2 separate regions of the Homo sapiens genome follow, and region 2 is linked to region 1. Evidence: promoter capture Hi-C in 16 types of primary human blood cells and fetal thymus (Javierre and others, 2016). All regions are on one chromosome and are shown on one strand. Each heading gives the region's core, a stretch centred on a gene start or on the middle of the fragment in contact. The rest is flanking DNA. Distances are from core to core; before and after follow the strand shown.

What was found. The method cuts DNA at HindIII sites, captures the fragments that hold promoters and counts their contacts. A CHiCAGO score of 5 or more calls a contact.
Region 2: a contact is called between a fragment that was not itself captured here and the fragment with the promoter of HTR3C in region 1, in 1 of 17 cell types (M1 macrophages). The highest score is 7.1, in M1 macrophages.

What each region holds. Positions count from the first base shown.
Region 1 is chr3:184,051,542-184,054,539 of GRCh38, forward strand. It overlaps HTR3C (5-hydroxytryptamine receptor 3C), which reads left to right and starts at 1,506. Exons shown (of 9, transcript NM_130770.3): 1 at 1,506-1,606. The coding sequence starts at 1,540. RefSeq lists an enhancer at 2,061-2,998. The HindIII fragment of the contact is 4,846 bases long and covers 772-2,998 here.
Region 2 is chr3:184,212,014-184,215,011 of GRCh38, forward strand. No RefSeq gene overlaps it. Among named protein-coding and RNA genes, the nearest start is that of VWA5B2, 16 kb to the right of the region's middle. The HindIII fragment of the contact is 3,345 bases long and covers 1-2,998 here.

The DNA of each region.
Region 1 (2,998 bases), core at 256-2,755:
CCACCGTGCCTGGCCTGGAGCAGGTTTTCTAGCAATTCCTCTGTTCCCTTCTATTCCTCCCTTTCTCACTCCTTCCACTCCAGTACTTCTAGCCACCTTTCTGCCTCTCTTTCTCCCCTCTTTGATTCTTTCTTTCCCTTCAACCTCTGGCTCAAGTTGGCCAAGTTTCCAAGTCAGGGAAGAAATTACTTGCAGAGGTGGTAGGTCTGAAGGACTGCAGCTACCGCAAACCTCAAATGGAATCCACTGCAGCCCTCTCCTGTGCCTTCCTACTTTGGGCCTCTAAGTCATTCCTGCATTTCTCAGCACTTTCTACTTAGGGCTGTCATGATCACTAATTCTGAACAAAGTTTTTTTTGTATTCTACATCTGGCCCTTCACCCTTTCTGCAAGGAAAAACTGTCCAAGTCTTTCTGGAAACGTAGCTAAGATACTTGAAATAAAAATGCTCCAATTCATTCATTTGAGCCAATTTTTTTTAATAGGAATGTGGTGACATAAGACATAATATTAACACATGCCAATGATATTGATGTTAGCTGAGATTACTAGTTTACAATAATGCTATATATTAACACTATTGACAGCACAAAGTGTTACTATCTTAATTTTATGAGTTCTATTATCATGTAATCAGTGCATAGCCTAAAAATTATACGGAGAACATTGGTTTGGAGAGAATAAATCAGAAAGGCAGAGACGCTGTAAAGAGGAAATCTAGTTAGGGGCTACTGGAAAAGCATAGACACTAGATGATGAAGGTATGAACCAAGCTTTATAATTTGGCATTTGGAATAATTCCAATGTCAACAAAAGCTGTAAGATACTTTGGTAAGGGGGCCGGGCGCGGTGGCTCACGCCTGTAATCCCAGCGTTTTGGGAGGCTGAGGTGGGTGGATCACGAGGTCAGGAAATCGAAACCATCCTGGCTATCACAGCGAAACCCCGTCTCTACTAAAAATACAAAAAATTAGGCGGGTGTGGTGGCACACACCTGTAGTCCCAGCTACTCAGGAGGCTGAGGCAGGCAGGAGAATCGCTTGAACCAGGCAGGTGGAGGTTGCAGTGAGCCAAGATCGTGCCACTGCACTCCAGCCTGGGTGACAGAGAGAGACTCTGTCTCAAAAAAAAAAAAAAAGATACTTTGGTATTCATAACCAAATCACTAAGTATTGCACCTGGTCTTGGTGCACACAGATTCCCTGGTCTTGGAAGCACACAATCCTAATTTCCCCAGCCTACATTCTCTCATTAAGGCACGTTATTTTGTTTTGGATCTCAGCACACAGCTGCCAAATAGAATGCTTTTCCCCTAGTGTCCGCCCAATTTCCTGCCTGCCTGGAGCCCGGAAGGTGCATCTGGGCAGAGCCAATGCAGGACACTTGGCTGGGACCTCTCTGGTCACAGGCTGTCACAGGGAGTGGTCACTTGCCATGAGTAGTATTCAAAACCAGCAACCAGGGTGTGGTCTGAGCTCCTTTAAGCTCCAGGGTTTGGGAGCTCCTGGTGAATCCCCAGAGAAGAGTCCAGAAAGAAGAATGGAAGGAGGGTGGCCTGCAAGGCAGAGTGCCCTCCTCTGCCTCACTGTCAGTCTTCTGCTTCAAGGTAAGATGGGACGAGAACAGGGAAGACCAGAGTGTGGTTCCGAGGGACACCTGGACTCACCTCTAGCACTTGGAGGGCATTCAGAATTAATGTGTTAAATATTTCTTCCATAATGTCTGTGTCCTGATTTCCTTTTGGTGACAGATAGAAAGACAGTTCACTGATGAGTGCACACAGACTTTCTCTGTTCCTGCCTGCACAGGGATCTATCAAACTGTCTCATTTCACCACTTCTCCAATTCCACCTTTTCACTGACTTCTGATGCTCCACTACCACACCCTTCTTCCCCCTCTCCTTGTCTCTGTTTCTCCTGACATGATATCTATGAGAAGAGTAGCCACTGATTTTAAACATGCCCTGAGGGAGGGGACAATCTGAGGTGGAAATGAGCAGATATTTTGCTTCCATGAGGTAATATTTGTTCCCAATCTGGACACATACCTTAAATATTATGGAAAGAGATGGAGATAGAGAGAAGGAGGCAGAGAAAAGGACCATATAATGATGGCGATGGAGCAAAGATGCCACTCAGGTACTACCCAGATGACTCCCTGGCCATGGCCGAGAGACAATATCTGCACCGGCCTCACTTTGTGGTTTTGTTGTTGTTGTTGTTTGTTTTTTGACATGAAGTGTCGCTCTGTCGCCCAGGCTGGAGTGCAGTGGCACGATCTTGGCTCACTGCAACCTCCGCCTCTCGGGTTTGAGCGATTCTCCTGCCTCAGCTTCCTGAGTAGTTGGGATTACAGGCGAGCGCCACTATGCCCAGCTAATTTTTGTATTTTTAGTAGAGATGGGGTTTCACCATGTCGGCCAGGATGGTCTCGATCTCTCGACCTTGTGATCCGCCCACCTCGGCCTCCCAAAGTGCTGGGATTACAGGCGTGAGTCACCGCGCCCGGCACACCGGCCTCACTTTGTGACTGAACAAATGCTGTATGCTCAGTGATGTCACCTCATGATCCCGATGCTAGAAATAACCCACGAGACAACTGAGGTCACTAAATCTGAGAAGAGCAAAATAAATGCATAGCACCAAGGTAAGCACCCAGTCAGATACCTACCGTGTTTCTCATATCTACCTGGTGAGTGCAGTTGTGTAAAATGTCTCTTATCCTCTTGATAAATCAGTTCTTGCCTTCAGTAGACTTAAGATCCTAAGAGTTAGAGAGAGAAATACATTAGCATCGATTTTTAGGTGACTTGGACCACAAGTTTTGGGCAGTTCTACTGCTAGGTGAGCCAAGAGTCTTGTGATGGGTACATTAAAGGACTCCTGGAAGTAGCTGCCATTGCACTTAGGCCAAGTTTTCATACAGATTTGGGCAAACTTTGCATGAGGATGAAGCAATGGGAATGAGAATAGAGCCCTGACCTCAGCTCACCACATC
Region 2 (2,998 bases), core at 127-2,626, 160 kb after region 1:
TGATTACTGTAGATTAGAATCTTTTTTTTTTTTTTTTAAGACAGAGTTTCACTCGTCTCCCAGGCTGGAGTGCAGTGACACGATCTCAGCTCACAGCAACCTCTGCCTCCCAGGTTCAAGCAATTCTCCTGCCTCAGCCTCCTGAGTAGCTGGGATACAGGTAAGCGCCACCAAACTCGGCTAAATTTTTTTGCATTTTTTAGTAGAGATGGGGTTTCACTATGTTAGCTAGGCTGGTCTTGAACCCCTGACCTCAAGCAATCCGCCCACCTTGGCATCCCAAAATGCTGGGATTACAGGTCTGAGTCACTGCGCACGGACTGATTACTGTAGTCTTTAGTCTTGTAGTATGTCTTGATATCTGGTAGAGCAAGCCTCATTCTTTTTTTTTTTTTTTTTTTTTTTTTGGAGTTGGAGTCTTACTCTGTTGCCCAGGCTGCAGCGCAGTGGCACAATCTGGGCTCACTGCAACCTCTGCCTCCCAGATTCAAGTGATCCTCCTGCCTCAGCCTTCTGAGTAGCTGGGACTACAGGCACATGCTGCCTGTGCCACCACGCTCGGCTAATTTTTTGTATTTTTAGTATAGATGGGGTTTCACCATGTTGGCCAGGCTGGTCTTGAACTCCTGACCTCAGGTGATCCACCCACCTCGGCCTCCCAAAGTGCTGGGATTACAGGTGTGAGCCACTACACCCTGCCCAAGCCCCACTCTTTACTCTTCTTTTTATATATTGACTTTGCTAATTTTGAAAATGAACTTCTGCAAATAAATACTAAAGTAAGTTTAAGTTTTTCAGAAAATTCCCATGGATTTTAAGTGGAATTGCATTGAATACACACATTAACTGGGGAGAACACTAATATCATTTGTTATTAAGCCATTCTGTCCAAGATAATGAAATATCTCTCTATTTTATTTGGATCATCTTCTGTGCCCTTTGAGTTTTTTTCCCCCATAACACTTCTATTGGACTTTGAGTTTTAATGTTTTCTTCAGAGTTTGCTGTGTTTTGTTTTGCTTGAGATGGAGTCTTGGCTCTGTTGCCCAGGCTGGAGTGCAGCGGTGTGATCTCGGCTCACTGCAGCCTCCGCCTCCCGGGTTCAAGCAATTCTCAGCCTCCCAAGTAGCTGGGATTACAGGCACCACCAGCACACCTGACTAGTTTTTGTAGTTTTCAGTACAGATGGGGTTTCACCATATTGGTCAGGCTGGTTTCGAACTCCTAACCTCAGGTGATCCACCCGCCTTGGCCTCCCGAAGTGCTGGGATTACAGACATGAGCCACCACGCCTGGCTATAGAGGTCTTATATTAATTAAGTTCCTAGATACTTTATAGTTTTTGTCATTATTGTGAATGGCTTCTTTGATTGTCATTTTCTAGTTGGTTACACCTGGTATAGAGATATGCTATTGAGGCCGGGCGCAGTGGCTCACACCTGTAATCCCAGCACTTTGGAAGACCAAGGCGGGTGGATTACTTGAGGCCAGGAGTCCAAGACCAGCCTGACTAACATCGTGAAACTCTGTCTCTACTAAAAATACAAAAATTAGCAAGGTCTGCTGGCAGGCGTCTATAATCCCAGCTATTTGGGAGACTGAGACAGGAGAATTGCTTGAACCCAGGAGGCAGAGGTTGCAGTAAGCCAAGATCAGACCACTGCACTCCAGCCTGGGCAAGAGAGCAAGACTCCATCTCAAAAAAAAAAAAATAGATACGCTATTGATTTTTGTAGATCTTCTATCTGGCTACCTTGGTGAATTCTCTTACTAATTACAACAGCTTCTTGACTCTATTGGTATTTTGAAGTATACCACATAAATAATTATGGTGTTATGTATATGAATACATACCTATAAATATTTTTACATGTGGCTATCTATATCTACAGTAAGCTACACATGGATTCATACTGATGACTCCAACTCCAATCCATTACTGCATGGATCATTCTGACCTTTCCCCCTTGCTCACCTATATGTTCTCATTCTTCTTTTTTTTTTTTTTTTTTTTGAGATGGAGTCTTGCTCTGCCACCCAGGCTGGAGTGCAGTGAGACGATCTTGGCTCACTGCAAGCTCTGCCTTCCGGATTCATGCCATTCTCCTGCCTCAGTCTCCTGAGTAGCTGGGACTACAGGCGCCCGCCACCATGCCTGGCTAATTTTTTGTATTTTTAGTAGAGACGGGGGTTTCACCGTGTTAGCCAGGATGGTCTCGATCTCCTGACCTCGTGATCCGCCCACCTCAGCCTCCGAAAGGCTGGGATTAGAGGCGTGAACCACTGCGCCCAGCCTATGCTCTCATTCTAACAGCAAAAACCTGCCTCTTGGCTAGGCACAGTGGCTCATGCCTGTAATCACAGCACTTTGAGAGGCCAAGGAGAGCAGATCACTTGAGGTCAGGAGATCGAGACCATCCTGGCTAACATGGTGAAACCCCGTCTCTACTAAAAATACAAAAAATTAGCCAGGCATGGTGGCGGGTGCCTGTAGTCCCAGCTATTCGGGAGGCTGAGGCAGGAGAATCACTTGAAACCAGGAGGTGGAGGTTGCAATGAGCTGAGACCTCATCACTGCACTCCAGCCTGGGTGACAGAGCAAGACTCCGTCTCAAAAAAAAAAAAAAAAAAAAAAAAAATCTACCTCCCACCATGCACCACTGGAACTTAATTGTTCAAATCCAGGATACACGTGGAGTGATCTCAACAATTGTTAACCTATTTCCTCAAGGAAACAGCTGTATCCACAAGAGTACAGTACTTGTGTACAGTTCATTTTACCTTTAGTCTTACAGACTCTACACATTTCCAGTCGACTTAGGTCAGCACCATTCTCCCCACTACTCTTCTTCAGTGAAGTTATTTCATATGTTTGTAATACAGGTAGATTCTTTTATTCCATTCTTCACTCCATCCTTGGATCTCTCAATCTCCTAAATGATTTTTTAAAATTTGCATACATGATGTTTTACTCTTTGAGCTGTAAGGGTCTATGGGT